3 separate regions of the Homo sapiens genome follow, and regions 1 and 3 are each linked to region 2. Evidence: promoter capture Hi-C in 16 types of primary human blood cells and fetal thymus (Javierre and others, 2016). All regions are on one chromosome and are shown on one strand. Each heading gives the region's core, a stretch centred on a gene start or on the middle of the fragment in contact. The rest is flanking DNA. Distances are from core to core; before and after follow the strand shown. Region 1 holds the start of NELFB (negative elongation factor complex member B). Region 2 holds the start of UBAC1 (UBA domain containing 1). Region 3 has its middle 3.9 kb from the start of BRD3OS.

The links. The method cuts DNA at HindIII sites, captures the fragments that hold promoters and counts their contacts. A CHiCAGO score of 5 or more calls a contact.
Region 1: a contact is called between the fragment with the promoter of NELFB here and the fragment with the promoter of UBAC1 in region 2, in 2 of 17 cell types (neutrophils and naive CD8 T cells). The highest score is 10.5, in neutrophils.
Region 3: a fragment that was not itself captured here is called in contact with the fragment with the promoter of UBAC1 in region 2 in 2 of 17 cell types (neutrophils and fetal thymus); the score reaches 8.8 in neutrophils.

Annotation. Positions count from the first base shown.
Region 1 is chr9:137,254,049-137,256,748 of GRCh38, forward strand. NELFB (negative elongation factor complex member B) reads left to right here and starts at 1,279. Exons shown (of 13, transcript NM_015456.5): 1 at 1,279-1,563; 2 at 1,859-2,022; 3 at 2,281-2,380. The coding sequence starts at 1,318. It also overlaps a transcript of CIMIP2A not described here. RefSeq lists silencers at 647-826, 1,017-1,386, 1,397-1,576, 1,617-1,676 and enhancers at 687-1,634, 1,635-2,582. The HindIII fragment of the contact is 15,726 bases long and covers 1-2,700 here.
Region 2 is chr9:135,959,972-135,962,671 of GRCh38, forward strand. It overlaps UBAC1 (UBA domain containing 1), which reads right to left and starts at 1,402. Exons shown (of 10, transcript NM_016172.3): 1 at 1,054-1,402. The coding sequence starts at 1,191. RefSeq lists silencers at 1,012-1,131, 1,142-1,551 and an enhancer at 1,022-1,522. The HindIII fragment of the contact is 10,703 bases long and covers 1-2,700 here.
Region 3 is chr9:134,020,185-134,022,884 of GRCh38, forward strand. No RefSeq gene overlaps it. Among named protein-coding and RNA genes, the nearest start is that of BRD3OS, 3.9 kb to the right of the region's middle. The HindIII fragment of the contact is 3,675 bases long and covers 1-2,700 here.

The sequences.
Region 1 (2,700 bases), core at 29-2,528, 1.3 Mb after region 2:
CCAGGGTCGGGCCCCAAGGCTGCCACCTTGCAGGAGCCTTACCTGCGGTGCCGTCACCCGCACCTCCCCAGGTCCTCCCCAGACCCAGGACCCAGACCAGGCCCAGAGCTCAACCCCTTCAAAAAGGCTCTGGGCAGCTGCTTCTGTGGCCTCAGCACCACCCCCTTTCTCAGAGAGGAATCCCAGGCTCAGGATTGTGTGTGTGCTGTGACCCTTGTCCTCCTCTGCCACCGAACCAGCTGGGGGTTGGATCAAGGCACTGGAACCCTCGCCCTAGGGCTGACCAACTTGGCCAGCGGCAAGAGAGCTGTGGTAGCCATGGCCTTGGGAGCTCGGCCCGGCTTGTGGGAACAGGAGCTCTGCTCACGGCTGCACCACCAGGCACCCCTGGTGAGACCCAAAGCTAGGAGTGGGAGCGGCAGGAAAGATGGAGCGATCTCCTCCAGCTGGGCTGAGGAGGGAGGGCTTCCTGGAGGAGGTGGTGGAGGAAGAAGCCTTCAAGGAAGAGCAAGAGTTTGCTGGGCAGCGGGAAAGAAATTTCTAGAGAAAATTTCAGCAGCGGAGACCGAAAAGAGAGAGGGTGTGTGTAGGGGGCTTGGCGCGGCACAGCCTGCGGGAGGGCGGCGGGCTGGAGAGGCGGGGAGGCCCGGGGAGCCCACCCGCCTGGGATAAGAAGGGACACTGTGGAACCTGGACTCTCCTTCACGGCTCCGCGGAGCTCGGTGGGCGCCACAGCCTCCCGGTGCCTGGGAGGGCGGCCGTCGCTCGCGCTCCCGCTGCGGGCCCGGTCTCCGCCAGGCCCCGGCCCCCTGAAGGCGCTCAGATCTCAGTTTTGGCGACAGCGCCGGGGTGGGCTTCGTGCCCGTTTCACGCGGAGGAACCCACGCTCAGGAGGGAGTCTGCGCCTGTGTCCGGCCCCTGCGGGGCAGAGGGGCGGGGAGCTCAACCCCCGGCAAAACGTCCCCGCTGCGCGTGGCTGCCGCGAGATCTGCAAGAGCGTTTTCCACGCTTATGTACACGAAATTCACTCGGCTGCGACGACGTCCGTTCCCGGAGCAGACGGACCCTGAGTCCGCCCCCCACGCCCTCACCCGCCCTCTTCTGCCAGAAAGCCCGGGCGCGGGCGGGACCGGGTGGGCGCATGCGCGCTGGGCTGGCTGGGCGGGGTCTCTCGCGCCGGGTGAGGGCGCTGCTCCCAGGAACCTGCGCGCGGCCCCGGCGGCGTTTCCCGGGGGCCGGTTGGCGGGCGGACCTGGGCGGTGCGGGGCGGAAGTGGGCGGCTGCGGGACGCGCGCGGAGTCGCGCGGCGGGCGGGACCTGGCCGAGCTGGAGGGCGCCGGGGAGCGGGGCTCGGGCGGTCCCCGAGGCCCGGCGGAGCGGGCTTCTGGGGTGTCTGCGGCGGCGCCGGGGGAACGGGCTGGGGATGGGGCGCCTAGCCGGGCGGTGGCCGGGGCCTCGGCCATGTTCGCGGGGCTGCAGGACCTGGGCGTGGCCAACGGCGAGGACCTGAAGGAGACCCTGACCAACTGCACGGAGCCGCTCAAGGCCATCGAGCAGTTCCAGGTGGGGCGGCCCCCGGGGCGGGGGGAGCCCAGTTGGAGGGCCGGGCCGCCTGCTCGGGAGTCGGGCCTGGCGGAGGCGCCGGAAGTTTTCCGGCTTTCTGCTGGTGGCTGAGTCCTGTTCTGGGGGTGGAGTCCGGAGCCAGCACCCCTTTGCTGGACGGCTGGGTGGCTTTCGGTGGCTGCGGTTACCGCCAGCACGGCTGGGAACACCTGGGTGCGTGCCTCCCTGTGCTCTCAGGACCTCGGGGTGCCCGGGCGCACTGGGCTGCGTTTGAGGTTTCTCTTGGCTTCCTCAGACAGAGAATGGTGTGCTGCTGCCATCTCTTCAGTCAGCCCTCCCCTTCTTGGACCTGCACGGGACGCCGCGGCTGGAGTTCCACCAGTCGGTATTCGATGAGCTGCGGGACAAGCTGCTGGAGCGAGTGTCAGCCATCGCTTCGGAGGGGAAGGCTGAGGAAAGGTGGGTCAGCGGGAGGGGTGGGCAGGTGAGATGTGCAGCCGGCCTCTCAGCCTTGGATCGACTCAGGGGCATTTATTGTCCTTTTGGCTCCACATCCTTGCTCCCAGAGGTGGCCTGGGCCTGTGTCTGAGTGACCCCTTGACCCATGTGTCCTGGGCGTGGAGGCTTGTCCTGGTAGCTGTTATCTGTGTAGGGACAGGCAGGTAGCTGCTGCGATTTGGCGCATCGCTGCACCATCAATCCTGTGAGTTGTTCCAGGTACAAGAAGCTGGAAGACCTTCTGGAGAAGAGCTTTTCTCTGGTGAAGATGCCGTCCCTGCAGCCCGTGGTGATGTGCGTCATGAAGCACCTGCCCAAGGTAGGGCCCTAACCCTAACCCTGATGGCGTGGACCGTCCGCCCACTCTCATGCCCTTGGTTAGTGGAAGTTCCGGTGGCCGCCTAGCTCCGGGAGCTTCCTGTGCTGCCTGCCCAAGTGCTGTCCATGGTGAGCTCTGTGCTGACTTCTCCCACATGAGCCGCGTGGAGACCGAACCTTAGCACTGGAGTTAGGGTGTGGGGCCCCTCCTGGGAAAGAGCTGTTGGTATTTAGCATGTCTGTCTGACATGCTGGGGCCGGGGAACCAGTCATAGGTGCCCTGTGGGGTGGAGCTTAGCTCGAGGTGGTCTCTGCGGGGCT
Region 2 (2,700 bases), core at 152-2,651:
AACTCCACAGAACCATGCTCACAAAAGCAACTCGAAAGTACTGTATGCGAGCAGCTACTATGGTAAGAACTGAAGTTTATCCTTAGAGACCACACTCAGCTCAAGTGTAACGCACTCAACCTGTCAACACAGATACGTCGTAACTTATCACATGGAGTCGCCACTAGAAAATTGCAGCCTCCTTCAACCTAAATTCTGCCAAGCCCTCAGATCATGTCAGGTATAGACAGGAGGTCAGTCTGACACACAGACAGGCTTCTTAGCTGACCTTACTGAGTCCTTTAGAGACTCGAGAACTAGTTCCAAAAATCAGCAACCTAAGGAACTAAATACACAGGAGTATTTCAGGTGAATAAACTTTAAAAAGTGTCTCCGCGAGGAGACCCTACTCCTGGGACTTCTCTCTTGACCAATTTTACCTCTGCAGAAAAGCAGGGGCGCAGGGCCTTGTCCCGCAGCGGCACTATTTCAGGGACTCCAGCTAAAAGGCACAGTGGCCTGGGGCCAGCCAGGAAAAGAGCTCCAAGCAGCCGGCTCTGCGGGAAAGGGGAAGAGGAAGGAGAAGGGGCCTCTTCATGAAGGAGCCTACGTTAATTCTCAGCTCTCAAAGATGCTGCTGAAAAAAAACCTCACCCCAACAGCAAAAAGGTACAACTGCCGGAAAGTCCCGAGGCCCTGCTCCGTCGGCGACTTCACTCTCCAGGCCTCAGTTTCCCGATCTGCCCCTACCTCCCTGCGTGGCTGCAGAGTTAACTGAGAGGCTGGCGTGTACAGGGCTCGGCCGGGCGGCTGGCACGGGGCGAGCGCTTAGTGACCGGAGTCCGCCGGCCGAAAGGCCAGGCCCGGGACGAGCGTCCAGAGGTGTGGGATCCGAAAGGGGGAGAGTCGGGCAAACGGGCAGGAGGCGCTGCCTCCACCCCCGGAGGAGAGGGCCTGGGAGCTGCGGACTGGGCGGCGGACCCCAGGTCGGGGCGGTTCGGGGACTGAGGCGGGGTCCGCAGTCGGAGGGGTCCGGAGCGGGTGTTGGGGGCAGGGGAGGGGGCCCGGCCTTACGTGCTTGAGGCAGCGCTCCTTGAGCTTCTCCACCGAGGTGTCCTCGGTGGCCTCCTCCAGCCACTCGGCGCCGTCGGACGCGCAGATGTGCAGCCGCAGCACCTTGCCCGCGAAGATCTTCTCCTCCTGCACGAACATCCCGCCGCCGCCGCAGGGGCCTGCGCCCGCCACCCGGGCCCCTGAAGGTCACCGGGAAGGCGGGCGGGGAGGGGGCGGGGCCAGACCGCCCGCGCGCTCCTTCGCTGGGCCGCCGCCCCGCCCCGGCTCCCGTCGGCCGGGCCGCCGTCACTCTCCGCGGCCTCAGCGGTCGCCTCGCTCCCGCCGCCGCAGCAGCCGCCGGGGGCGCGCCGTCGCGGCCGCACCGGAAGTGCGTCACGGGCGCGTCTGGCGCATGCCGGGAGATGTGGTTCTCGGACAGGCGCCTCGCTCCCGCCGCCGGGGGCGCGCTGTGGCCACCGCAAAGGAAGTGCGTCACGGGGCGCGCCCGGAGCATGCCGGGAGCTGTAGTTCTCTGGTAGCTTCGTTCCTCCCCGAGCTGCAGGCGGTTCCCACCCGGGGCACTCACCACGTGGGACCTCATGGGTTCTAAAGGTAAAATACACGCTGGATCCCAAAGAAGTAACGGGAAAAAGGAATGTAAGGCATCTCGATAATGTTTTCATATTGATTACATGTTGAAATAATATTTTGTATCTATTGAGTTAAGAAAAATATGTCATTAAAATTAATTTCACCTGTTTCTTTTAACCTTTTTAAGATAGAATTTTAAATTGCCTACATGGCTGCTGTGATATTTCTTTTGCACTGCACTGCTGTAGAACGGAGGCTCTCCAAAGAACTTGGCTTTAACAAGCCTAGGTCTTTCTAATTCACACGCAGATCAGAGAGTCACTGTTCCTGCGAAGCCTAGGTTTGCGGGGCACCCAGAGGGGAGGGAAGCCGCCCTTGGTGCAGGTGATGCCAGGCAGACTCATTTTCTGTGGGGTGTGACAAAGAGTCTTTGCTTGGCCAAACTTAAGCAGGCTCCTGAACCTTCTACATCATCTGTACACTTCCTTGTAAAATCCAGTTTTAGCGAAGAGCCTTGATAAGTGAGTTTAGCAAGAACTCCCAGCCTCAATATCAGATCACCCTGGACGTCTGGTCAGGTTCCTCGTCCCCCAGGTGCTGTCTGATATCTCCAGCCTCTCTTCAGCAAGAACCCTGTCAGGTCGGTTTAGCCAGAACCGCCCACATCCCTGATGTTTTCTCCTATTAATTTTCCATTCACTGACCCCACCCACTTGCCCTTGCTGTATTGGGAGTTGAGCCTGACCTCTCTCCCCACTGCAAGCCCCCTTGGCAGTGGTCTCTGTACCTAGCTCAACAGTCCTGGATAACGTCTTACTTACCATGCTCCTAAATATGAATTTTGTAGTTCAGGTTAGACCTGACACATTGACTGATCTGTACTCATTCATCCCATTCATTTAAAAAAACTTTACTGCGCAGAGATGAATAAGGCACAGTTCCCGTTCTCAGAGGTTAGCAATCTAACCGGGGAGGCTGTCTCTGCCTCCTGCCTGCAGGCTTTTATTCTGTCCACACCATTTTGCACACACATCCTCATTTTTCTCCTGTGATAATTCCAACCTCGTCCAGATTCCA
Region 3 (2,700 bases), core at 168-2,667, 1.9 Mb before region 2:
CACTATGTTGGCCAGGCTGGTCTCCAACTCCTGACCTCGTGATCCACCCGCCTCAGCCTCCCAAAGTGCTAGGATTACAGGTGTGAGCCACCTCGCCCAGCCCTGTCTTATTAATTTTAATAATTTGTCTGAGATTCTCCTGAATTTGTACTGTTAATTGAAAAAAGAACCCCACAATATCCATAAATACTCTGTTGCCCAGGCTGGAGTACAGTGATGCAATCATGACTCGCTGCGACCGCTGCCTCCTGGGCTCAAGCAACCCTCCTGCCTCAGCCTCCCAGGTAGCTGGGACTATAGGTGCCTTTCACCATGCCCAGGTACTTTTTGTAGAAATGGGGTTTTGCCATGTTGGCCAGGCTGGTCTTGAACTCCTGAGTTTAAGTGATCTGCCCGCCTTGGCCTCCCAAATTGCTGGGACTACAGGTGTGAGCCACTGCGCCTGGGTGACTTTCTTTCTCATAAAGGGTTACAGCCAGCAAGGTGGCCATCCCACAGGCTGGAAAATGTGCCTCTGAAGGAGGAGGGGTTGGGGCAGGAGCTCCATGCTGAACAGGTTGGCTAAACATACACATTCAACAGGTTATAGGAGGAGCTATGAATATTCATGAAGGTCCTGACAACATGCATACTGAACAAACATGCATGTAACATACAACTCATGTTCACCTTGGGGTGGAGACTTAGCATCAAAATGTACTAAAATTAGGCCTTATAGGCTGGGTGCAGTGGCTCGCGCCTGTAATCCCAGCACTTTGGGAGGCTGAGGTCTGGCCAATACGGTGAAACCCAGTCTCTACTAAAAATAAAAAAAAAACTAGCTGGGCACCGTGGTGCACACCTGTAGTCTTAGCTACTTGGGAGGCTGAGGCAGGAGAATCACTTGAACCCAGGAGGCGGAGGTTGCAGTGAGCCGAGATGGCACCACAGCACTCCAGCCTGGGCAATAGTGGGAGACTCCGTCTCAAATAAATAAAAATATATACATACATAAAATAAAATTAGGCCTTATAGTAAAAAGGTCTTTCCAGGACACAAAAGCACACAAGTATGCAGCCTCTCTGAACCAGCCGGAACCAATCCATAGTCAGTGGTCTTACCTGGAGAAAGTTGCTGAAATCAGTCTCTTGTTCAATGAAAGCTGTAGTTGGCTGGGCATAGTGGCTCACACCTGTAGTCCCAGCACTTTGGGAGGCCACGATGGGAGGATTGTTTAAGCCCAGGAATTTGAGATCAGCCTAGGCAACATGGCAAAACCCCATCTCTACCAAAAATACAAAAAGTAGCTGGGTGCAAACTCCACCTCCCGGGTGGACCTACTGGTACACCTAGTGGTGCACACCTGTAGGCCCAGCTACTTGGGAGGCTGAGGTGGGAGGATTGCTTGAGGCTGGGAGGTTGAAGCTGCACTCAGCCAGGATTGCACCACTGCACTCTAGCCTGGAGGACAGAGTGAGACGCTGTTTCAAAAGAAGAGAAAGCTAGTTATGGTGGGTGAATGGGGTCAGTTAGCATCTGGAGCTGGATGAGCTGCAAATCGTTTTAACATTGTTTATCTTGAGGTCAGTACTTACTTAGCTGCTAGAGAAAAGGAACAACCTCGTGGCAGTGAGAATAGAGTTTATTCTTTAATTGTAGAGGTGTAGGACTTAACTTGTGCCTGGCATGGCCCTAAATCTTATTAATTAATTAATTTATTTATTTTTGGAATCAGAGTCTCACTTTGTCACCCAGACTGGAGTGCAGTTGTGCCATCTTGGCTCACTGCAACCTCCACCTCCTGGGTTCAAGTGGTTTTCCTGCCTCAGCCTCCCAAGTAGCTGGGATTACAGGCATGCGCCACTATGTCCAGCTAATTTTTGTATTTTTTGTAGAGATGGGGGTTCACCATGTTGGCCAGGCTGGTCTCGAACTCTCAGCCTCAAGTGATCTGCCCGCCTTGGACTCTCAAAGTGCTGGGATTACAGATGTGAGTCACCATGCCCAGCCACAGGTCTTATTTATAATTTGGTATGTTATCGCCATAAAGAGTCTGTTTTTCAGTCTTCTATGTTTTCAGTCTTACATATTTTAACGCAAATGCTAGTGCCTTGTCTCTAAGTCACCAAAGGGAGGAGTTATAACGACATGAGTGGGCTCTCCTATCCCATCGTGGCTGGGAACTCAGTTTTAAGTTTTTTCTGAGGTCCCCTTGGCCAAGAGGGGATCCGTTCAGTCAGTGAGGAGTTTAGGATTTTATTTTTAGTTTATATTCCCTTCTTTTGGCCAAGATTTGCCAGAGATGGCATTGATGACCAAACTTTTATTTTGTCCTATATCGTTGCTGGGGCTGTGTGCTACCTGCACTGGGTCCATCTTGTCCCTTGGTGGGATCCCTATGGCCAAGAGACTTAGAGCCAAAAGACTGAAAGACAGCTAATTAAATGTTTTAGGACAGATAGGAAAGGAGATGGGCAGGCACTCATTCACCCTTAAAAACCTTTTGTGCAGCCAGGTGCGGTGGCTTATGCCTGTAATCCTAGCACTTTGGGAGTCTGAGGCGGGTGGATCACGAGGTCAGGAGTTTGAGACCAGCCTGATCAACATAGTGAAACCCTGTCTCCACTAAAAATACAAAATGAGCCAGGCATGGTGGCACATGCCTGTAACCCTAGCTACTCGGGAGGCTGAGGCAGGAGAATCACTTGAACCTGGGAGGCG